3 separate regions of the Homo sapiens genome follow, and all the other regions are linked to region 2. The links are contacts of gene promoters, found by promoter capture Hi-C in blood cells and fetal thymus (Javierre and others, 2016). All regions are on one chromosome and are shown on one strand. Each heading gives the region's core, a stretch centred on a gene start or on the middle of the fragment in contact. The rest is flanking DNA. Distances are from core to core; before and after follow the strand shown.

Region 1 (3,542 bases), core at 320-2,819, 360 kb before region 2:
GTGTGTGTGTGTGTGTGTGTCCATGCACACACAAGTCAGCCTATGTTCTTTCAGTTGCAAGGGCTAGAAATCCAGTTCAAAGTACACAAAACTCAGAGGGGGAATTTATTCAACCCTTGGATTGAAAAGTGTAAGAGGTTGATGAACTTCAGGCTCAGCTGGATCCAGAGACTCAATTACTGTCACCAGGCCACTAGCTCTTGGCTCTGCTTTCTCCACCATTAGCTTTATTCTCAGGCAGGGCCTCCTCTCAAGCCCCAAAAGCACCAGACTGACATACCACTGGCTCAGCAAGCTTTTCATGGAAAGGTCCCACCAAAGCCAAGCCTCAGTCCCTGCCCACCTCTGTACCAATCACCAAGCCAGGGGCTATGATATTCTCATTAACCAGATTCCAGTCACAGGCCCACCTCTGAACCAATCATTGGTCCTGGCAGCTGTGATACTCTCACTGGCAGGCCTGGGTCACATGCTCACCCCTGAACCAATCCTCACTGGCCCTCGCGGCTGTGACACTCTCATTGGCAGGCTTAGGTCATGTGGGGAGAGGAGGCTCTCTAAGTGGAAGTCAAGAGGCTGTTGCTAGAGAAAGTGTTTATTTGGTGCCCAATGGGCAGAAATAACTAGTAACATCAAGGCTTCTCTCTGCCTATGTCCCAAGATGGTCACTTGGGTCTGAAAAGCCTGAGAAACCTGCTGACGCAGAAGAGCAGCCTTGGAAACCTAGCAAAAAGGGAAGGCCTGGGACATACCAAGAGTCCAGACAACCAAAAGGCCCACAGGAGGGGTCAGCAGGACCGGGGCAGATCAGACAGGTGCCAGAGGCAGGCGACCACTCTGCACAGTTACCACCAGAGGGCAGCTGGCCAGGAGGCAGGGTAAACAGGAAGAGGTCAAGTAGCCTTGGGGAAACTCTGTACCTTGCCTGAGGCATGGCAGATAATAACACTGACTACTCACCCTTATTGAGCCTGGCCCTGTCCTAAGCATTTTTATGCATCAACTCAATGAATTATCACCAATGAGATTGGTACATTTATAACCCCATTTTACAGATGAGGAAGCCAAGGCTTTCAAGTAACGAGCCCAAAGTGTCATACGGCAGAAAGGGGGCAAGTCACGCGTCTATTCCACCAAACCCTGAGCCTCCTGAGGTTAGGGGCTGTGTCTTGTTTGTATCTGAAGTCCCTGTGGACCCTAACAATCACTGTGCTTAATGGATATCTGGTGAAGTGAAAGCCTGGGGCAGGGGGCGCTGTCACTGTGTTCTCCACCCTCCCCACCCTCCCCATCCCAGGAGGAAATTACCAGGCTCAGTTCAGGCAATACCCCTTCCAGGTGTGCTGACCTTGGAAGATGATTCTTAGACCTTGCCCTTGCTCTGTTGTAATGGACTCTCAGGCACTACAGTACTCACATCAGTAGAAGAGAGAGTTTGAGATTTTGCAAAGGCTTGACAACTCCAAAGTCTCATGGTGTAGGTCACTTATTTTTGTTTGAGGCGGTCTTGCTCTGTTGCCCAGACTGGAGCACAGTGGCACAATCTTGGCTCACTGAGACCCCCACCTCCAGGGTTCAAGCAATTCTTGTGCCTCAGCGTCCCAAGAAGCTGGGATTACAGGCATGTGCCACCATGCCTGGCTAATTTTTGTATTTTTAGTAGAGACAGAGTTTCCCCGTGTTGGCCAGGCTGATCTCCAACTCCCGGCCTCCAGTAATCCACCAACCTAGGCCTCCCAAAGTGCTGGGATTACAGGTGTGGGCCACTGCAGCCGGCCTGTAGGTCACTATTTATGCCTCTCCCAGGAGTAGCTGGCTGTGCAGTTGGGGGGAAGAGGAAGAACATATTTAATGTGAATTCATTCATCATCCTCCACTGGGCTCCCATGGTGGGCCAAATACCATGTTGAGTGCCTTGAGGGGGACAGAGGGAAGCATGACAAAACCTCCTCTCTCCAATCCCCTCCTGGGAGGAGAAATAAGTCACTGCCAGAAGGAAGAACACAGAAGGAAGTCCTGCCTTCCACAAGAGAGGACTTCAACCGTCTAATCATTTGGGCAACAAAAATGTATTAGGTACATGTCAAGTGCCAGTGAACAAAACAGAATAGACTCAGCTCTTGCCCTCAGGAAGTTCTCAGTCTTATGGGAAGGCAGACAATAGACAAATAAATACGGAATTGCAAATGTGATGTGTTTTATCAGAAACAGAAAAACCACAGGGTGCTATAAGAGAAACTAAAAGAGGTCCGGGTGCAGTGGCTCACGCCTGTAATCCCAGCACTCTGGGAGGCCGAGGCAGGTGGATAACCTGAGGTCAGGAGTTCAAGACCAGCCTGGCCAACATGGCGAAACCCCGTCTCTACCAAAAACACAAAAAATTAGCTGGGTGTGGTGGTGAGCACCTGTAATCTCAGCTACTCGGGAGGCTGGGGCAGGAGAATCCCTTGAAACTAGGAAGTGGAGGTTGCAGTGATCTGAGATCTCGCACCTGAACTCCAGCCTGGGCGACAAAAGCAAAACTCCATCTCAAAATATATATATAAATAAAGACAGAAACTAAAAGGGGACTTGTTGGAGCAGTTTAGGGTTGCCTTTCTGAGGTGGTGAGAGATGAGAAGAGGCCAGCCATATGAAGAGTGTGGGAACAGCATTCCAGAATAAGGGAATAGCATGTGTGAAAGGCCTGCATGGAGGAAGAGTGTGGCATGTTCAAGGGACTAAGATTAGGCAAATTATGTCTGGAGATTAGTGGGTAGAAGTAGGCAGTGGCAGAAATCGGGGTCAGAGAAGAGCACGAGGTCAGGTTACACTGAGCCTTGTAGGCTTAGGAAAAAAGCTTGGGCTTGATCTGAGATGGGAGACCCCCCAAAGGGTTATGAACAGGACGATGATGTGGCCTAATCCAATCTATAATCTATGTTTTTGTTTTTATTTTTGTAACGTACCACCACCCACAGAAAAATCCATGTGTTTTGTTTTTAACAGAGATGGGGTTCTCACTATCTTGCCCAGGTTGGTCTCAAACTCCTGGTCCTCCTACCTTGGCCTCCCAAAGTGCTGGGATTACAGGTGTGAGCCACTGCCCCTGGCCCGGAAATCTGTGTATTTCAAAGTCACTCTGGCTGTGGTGGGGAAAGTGGATTTATGGCGGAGCAGAGTGGAAGCCAGGAAATATGGCAGCTCTTGCTGAGTCAATAGCCAGGGTGCACAGATGAGGGGCTATTCCTTCCTCATAGCGGGCTCTGGGGAGGCTTTCAGAAGCAGATTTTACCCCAGGTGAAAGAGGGACAGGCAGGCAGGAAGGAGAAGGCTGTATTCCCCACTCCACTCACTTTTCTCCTAAATAAAGGGGAGAAAAAAGTTTTTCCTTTTTCTGCCTCAGAAACTATAAAGAGATGCCCATTCATTGGTGCCTTCCAAAATGCCTATGTGTAGACTTAAACAACAATAACAACAGAACATCAGCAGTTCTGAGTGCAAATAATTCAATGATGTTGTAAAATCTGGCATAAATAGATCTGGCTGAGCCTCACAACTTT
Region 2 (3,422 bases), core at 257-2,756:
AGTGCTGGGATTACAGGCGTGAGCTACGGCGCCTGGCCAAAAAATATGTTTTTTAATGGAAAAACAAAAACAACCACACGAAATAGACTGTTCTTTTGAGAAGGCCAGTTATAATTTCCTTTTCTTAAAAATTTCTTCATAAGGCATTGTCTACAATGTTAAATAAATTTAAACAAACATTTTACATAAAAGCAAATCATTCCTATATTAGGATAAAAGTATCAATTGTTAGTTTTCCCTTAAAATAACATTCAGGAACTTACTTCTCCAGCGTCCAGTAGCAGGTTGCAAACAATGAATATATTCAGTAAGTCTCCTCTCAAAAGCCTTGAGATCTAGGTATAAAGATGTCAATTTTCTAATTAGCCACTCTTACTCGTCTGACGAAATGTCAGAGTATTTACCTAACATTAAGACGACATGTGAGATACTCTTAACTGCTTCAGGTCTTACACACTAACTTCCATGTATCACTGCACTGTTTATTTCATTTACTATGACAGCTTTTTAAGCACTTGACAAAAAATTAGGGCTCTTTAATTCCAATTTCTCATATAAGAAAACTTGCTGATTTACTTTTAGAAGCTTCATAAATGGTATTGGGAGAAATAAGCAGCAGCCTCGGCCAGCGCCAAAAGCGAACATTTTCAGGGTTGCAAATAAAATTAAAATCAGGTCGAGTTTTAGCTCTCTGGGAACCAAGAACTTCCTATTAGAACCACGTAGTGCCTAACATCAAAGTCTTCGAGGTCTACCTGACTGCAATTACCCGCCTCCGGTTTCCAGCTCTTATATTTAATTAATGGCTACGCCGTCTGGCCTTACTAGACTTCTTGACACTGATAGCGAGTGGGTGTGGAAAGACATTCCCCTTGCCCCCTCCGAAGGGGTACAGGTGATCTTCGTGGCACCCAGGCAGCGCCTAGTTCTAGAAGACAGGGGCGTCTAAGCTGCTCCGAGTGAGTGGTGGGGTATCCTTTCCGCAGTGGTGTGCTTTAAACTTTAAAACACCGAGCAGCACTTCCTAACCTTGGCAGTTACCGGAAACCACCGCAGGAATCAGGGATACAACTCGCGGGGCTGTGAGAATGAAATGAAATGAATTAGCAGGCTGCAATGCACGAAGTGCAAGTGTCTGCCAGTGAAAAGAAAATAAAAATAGAAGCTGGCGAGGAGGTCGACCCTCTAGGTTTGTGGGGACTCAGGGAGCTGAGGCACCGCCCCCCGCGTCTGGCCAGGTACGGCCGCCTACGCGCCCCCAAGCTCCGGGCCCCTAGCTCCATCCTCTGCGGCCTCCTCCCGGGGCGGGGGTCTTCACGACGCCGGCTCCTCCGGAGCACCGCCAGCTTCCGAGGGGAGACGGGGGACGGGCCCGGGCGGCCCACCCTACCTTCCGCCTGCTCCAGCGAGTTCATGTCGGGCGGCAGCTCGGGTCACCGCCGCTGCCCTGTCCGCATCGCAGCTTCCGCGGCCCCCGCCCGGCCCGCAGCGCCAACTCCCACCTCTAACCGCTCCCCGCTGCCCCTCCCCGTCGCACCGCCCCTTGCCTAGACCCGCTACGCTCATTGGATTCCTCTACTAGACCTCCAACTAAGACAGCTTTCTATTGGCTGTCTCTTGCACCGGCCTCGGCGCCTAGCGTTGGACGGTCAGCCGGAGGGACCAAGAACTGCCGGCGGCCAGGCGGGCGTAACGCTGGCGTCGCCTGCTGCCCCGGGGAGGAACTGCAGCCCTCCGGAGCCAGTTCGTTCATTCATTTATCCCCCGTTCCCCGCTTGGTTCTTTCATTCGTCAAATGTTGATTGAGCGCCCACTACCTTCCAGGCATTATTCTGGTCGCTAGCGAGGGATACAGAAATCAAAGAGCTGGTTCTGTCCTCAAGGATCTCAAGGAGTAATGAAATCTGTACAGAACTAACTAGAACCCTAAATAACCAGTTTCCTTAATTATGGTATCCTAGATAACCAACCCCTTAAGTAAACACTTCTCTCTTGGTTACTTTCCTCTCACATCACCCAGCTTTCATAATTCCTAAATGAGGCAAAGTGTAAGCCCAAATACCTATAACTTAAGAAGAGATCTGTAAGGGATTGACTACATTTGTATTTGATCACAAGGCCTTCTTGTTCATTTATTGGTGGCATTCTTTCATTCAAAATCATTTTATTGCCTAACATGCTAGACACTGTATTGATACGCGTGTGAGCCAGGTAGACAGGATTCCTGCCCGCAAAGAGGAAGGGCTACAGCAGGCAACAAACATGCAAATAAGTAATTGATTTCAAATAAGAATAGTTGTGTTAAAATAGAGATCCTGGCCGGGCGCGGTGGCTCACGCCTGTTAATCCCAACACTCTGGGAGGCTGAGGCGCGTGGATCACTTGAGGTCAGGAGTTGAGACCAGCCTGGGCAACATGACAAAACCCTGTTTCTACTGAAAATACAAAAAAATTATCCAGACGTGGTGGTGCATGCCTGTAATCCCAGCTCTTTGGGAGGCTGAGGCACGAGAGTCACTTGAACCCAGGAGACGGAGGTTGCAGTGAGCCACTGCACTCCAGCCTGGGTGACAGCGTGAGACTGTCAAAAAAGAAAAAGAAAAAAAAAAGAATCTAAGACTGATGGGCTAGATTTTTTTGTGGCAGTAACATACCAACTTATAAACAAGACCTAAGGCCCTGCCAGGCAAGGGTTAAATCACTCAAGACCCAGACACTTAAAGAATAAACGATGTTCTAACTGCCACAATGTTCGTTTTTTTCCTCTAGCAGCTAAACAAGCAATATTAAAACAATTGCAGCTTACCAAGTACCAGTCACTGACTAACTGATCCCTTTGTTCCACAAGCCATAACTCCTGCTTTCATTAGACAAGAGACTGATTTCAGTAACTTTCTCCTGATAAGAGACCACCCACCATAGATTGGCCCTAGCCAGTCTACAGAGGCTGCACAATGAGTGCCTTTATGTTCTCTGCTTCGCCTTTTGACGTAAAGGGTCTAACTGTAATGCATTTAAATGTTAAGTCTCTACCCCAAAGTGAACATGTGACCCATGTAACATGCATGATTGTTTATTATGCATGTGTGCACCCCTCTTTCCTGAATAGCTTCTCCTATAACCTGTTAAATATGTATACTTGGCCAACCCATTTGGCATAAATTCCTGCTTCACCCTTCCTCCTTCAAAGTGCCTGCTTTTGGTCTCTGCCAGAGACCATACTTCCCAGCCTATAAGGATGGCCAGCCTGCAGGCTCCAACCCTTCAGAAATAAACCTCTTTAGGCCAGGCACAGTGGCTGATGCCTGTAATTCCAACACTTTGGGAGGCTGAAGTGGGAGGATCACTTGAGTCCAGGAGTTCCAGACCAACCTGGGCAACATAGTGAGATTCTGTCTCTACAAAAAACAAACAAACAAACA
Region 3 (3,180 bases), core at 70-2,569, 490 kb before region 2:
CTCAAATCTTTTTACAATAGGTATTAATTCATTCAGGAGGGTGGAGACCTCATGACCTAAACACCTCCCATTAGGCCCCATCTGCCAACACTGTCACATTGGGGATTAAGTTTACAACACATGTTTCTGGGGGAACACATTCAAACTATAGCCCTACCCAAATCAAACTGTAGATTCAATGCAATCCCTTCAAAATTCCCAACGGTATTTTTTACAGTAATAGAAAAAACAATTCTAAAATTCATATGGAACCACAATACATCCTAAACAGACAAGAAATCTTGAGCAAGAAGAACAAAGCTGGATGCATCACACTACTTGATTTTAAAATATAGGACAAAGCTATAGTAATCAAACAGCCTGATACCAGCATAAAAACAGACATGTAGACCAGTGGAGTAGAATAGACAGCCCCAGAATAGGTCCACACATTTACAGTCAATTGATCTTTGACTAAGGTGCCAAGAACACAAATGGGGGAAGGACAATCTCTTCAATAAATGATGTTGGGAAAATTAGATATTCAAAGGCAGAACAATGGAATTGGACATTTATCTCACATCATATACAGAAATCAACTCAAGATGGAGTAAAGACTTAAACACAAAGCCTAAACAATAAAACTACTAGAAGAAAACACAGTGAAAAAGCTTCTTGACATTGATCTAGGCAATGATTTTTTGGATATGGCCTCAAAAGCACAGGCAACAAAAGCAAAAATAGACAAATGGAATTACATCAAACTACAAAGCTTCTGCATAGCAAAGGAAACAACCTGTGGAATAGGAGTTAAGAGATAATCTATGGGATAGGAGAAAATATTTGCAAACAATATGTCTGATAATGGATTAATTTCAAAAATATATAAGGAACTCAAGCAACTCAATAGCAAGGAAACAACCCAATTTTTAAAAGGACAAATGACCTAAGTAGACATTTCTCAAAAGAAGACACACAAGTGGCCAACAGGTATATTAAAAAATGCTCAATATCACTAATGAGGGAAATGTAAATCAAAACCACAATGAGATCACCTCACACCTATTAGAACTGCCATAATCAAAAAGACAAAAGGTACGTATTTGAAAGAATGTAGAGAAAAATGAACCCTCATACACTGTTGTTGGGAATGTAAATTGGTACAGCCATTATGGAAAACATTATGGATGTTCCTCAAAACGTTAAAACTAGAACAACCATATGATCGAGCAATCCACTTCCAGGTATATATCTGGAGGATGTGAAATCAGTATCTCAAATAGACTCTCAAGTTCACTGCAGCAATATTCACAATAGCCAAGATATGGAACATCATCATGTTCCATACAACTAAGACTACATCAATGAATGAATGGATAAAGAAAATTGTGTGTGTGTGTGTGTGTTGCACACATACAATGGAATACTATCCAGTCTTAGAGTAAAAGGAAATCCAGTCACTTGTGACAACATGGGTGAACCTGGAGGACATAATGTTAAGTGAAAAAGCCAAACAGAAAGACAAATACTGTATGATCTCACTTATATGTGGAATCTTAAAAAGCTGAACTCACAGAAGATTGAATAGAATAGTGGTTGTCAGTGCTAGGGCTGTGGGAAATGGTCAAAGGGATCAAAGTTTCAGCTTTGAAGAATGAATAAGTTGTGGATATCTAAGGTACAGTATGGTGACTATAGTTAAAGTCATACTGTATACTTTAAATTTACTAAGAGAATAGATCTTAAATATTCCCAACACACACACACACAATTATGTAAGGTGATGGTCATGTTAATTAGCTTGATGTTGGTAATTATTTCATAATGTGTATGTATTTCAAAAATATCACATTGTACACTGCAAATATATACAATTTTAACTTGCCAAGTATACTTCAATAAAGCTTGGAAAATATTTTTAATAAATAGTAAATAATAAGACTAAAGAAATATGACTCCAAGCACCCTCCCAGCAGCCTGACTGGTCACTGTTGATGGGTCCCCACCCCACAGCAGAGCTGCACAACACTACAGGGTCCCTCAGAGGCTGCAGCTATGATGCCTCCAGCCACACCTGAGCATAGGATCTTTGCCAAGGCCTAGAAACTCAGTCCAGCCACTCTAGGTGTAGCTGTTTCCTTTGGAGGGACCACCACCCCCCTCTTCCCAGGTACTGTCCTACTACTTTAAGGATTATAGAATTCACACTCTCAGGGACTTTAATTTTCCTCTCATCACCTCCTCTCCCAAAGTCAACCTCCTCCACTCAGAGTCTCTCTCCTCCTCCCTCTCCCTGACAGGATAATCTAATACGGTAATCCTCAAAGTGTGGTCCTGGACCAGCAGCTCCTGCACCACCTGGAAATTTGTTTCAAATGCACATTCATTTTTACGCCATCTTAATACTTACTGAACCAGATACTCTGGGAGTGGAACTCAGTAATCTGTGTTTCGGCAAACCTTCCAAGGGATACTGGTGCGTGCTCAAGTTTGAGAACCACTGGTCCAGTAAAATCCTTGCAGTGAAATTATACTTTTAAAACCAAAAGCCAAGAGGGGAGCTTGTCTTGGGACAACATCAGGTTCTGGTCTCTGCGACATAGCATCTTCCTACCTGGTGAGCAAACAGCAAACACCAGAGCCCTGGGCTAGGGAAGAACAAAGAGGACCAGCATGTTTGGCAGTGAGGGTTGCACGCTGCACAACTCTAAGGGATGCTACCCACATAAACTACCATGCAAATGGCACAGTATGGTGGACAGGTGGGAACATCAAGGAACCAAAGGGCAGAAAGAGGGATCTTGTGGTTATTTGAATAAGTGGGCTTGAGGGATTCAGTCCCCGTTAAGGGGCAATTGGGAAGATGGGAAGAAAAGCAGTGCAAAACCTGAACTCAGCCCCAGGGGGCGCTCTATATGCAGACAACACACATCATGGGTCAAACAAAGAATGTGTTATTCAGGGGGTCTCAAACGCAAATGCCCACAGGAGCCAGGTTGGTATGTAAAGAGACTGGAGAACACAGCCCAGCAAGGGTGCAAGCACCACCAGCCATTGCCATTGTGGCCACGTGGGATGCTGAGCTCAGCCTTGTCATATCTTCCTTTTTAAAAACAAATGAAACCAGAAATCCATGTCTACGTGAGATCTCTAGGAGTCCCTTTAAATATTTTAAACAGATTCTGATTCTTTTTTACTGCT

What was found. Contacts are between HindIII fragments. The CHiCAGO score rates a contact against its expected background, and 5 or more counts as called.
Region 1: a contact is called between a fragment that was not itself captured here and the fragment with the promoter of CNEP1R1 in region 2, in 3 of 17 cell types (neutrophils, monocytes and naive CD8 T cells). The highest score is 9.3, in neutrophils.
Region 3: a fragment that was not itself captured here is called in contact with the fragment with the promoter of CNEP1R1 in region 2 in 5 of 17 cell types (erythroblasts, M2 macrophages, activated CD4 T cells and 2 more); the score reaches 8.2 in erythroblasts.

The regions. Positions count from the first base shown.
Region 1 is chr16:50,379,576-50,383,117 of GRCh38, reverse strand. No RefSeq gene overlaps it. Among named protein-coding and RNA genes, the nearest start is that of BRD7, 12 kb to the right of the region's middle. The HindIII fragment of the contact is 2,544 bases long and covers 298-2,841 here.
Region 2 is chr16:50,023,309-50,026,730 of GRCh38, reverse strand. It overlaps CNEP1R1 (CTD nuclear envelope phosphatase 1 regulatory subunit 1), which reads right to left and starts at 1,506. Exons shown (of 6, transcript NM_001281789.2): 1 at 1,391-1,506; 2 at 264-335. The coding sequence starts at 1,415. RefSeq lists a silencer at 1,193-1,502 and an enhancer at 1,316-1,817. The HindIII fragment of the contact is 11,127 bases long and covers 588-3,422 here.
Region 3 is chr16:50,509,473-50,512,652 of GRCh38, reverse strand. No RefSeq gene overlaps it. Among named protein-coding and RNA genes, the nearest start is that of NKD1, 37 kb to the left of the region's middle. The HindIII fragment of the contact is 1,132 bases long and covers 754-1,885 here.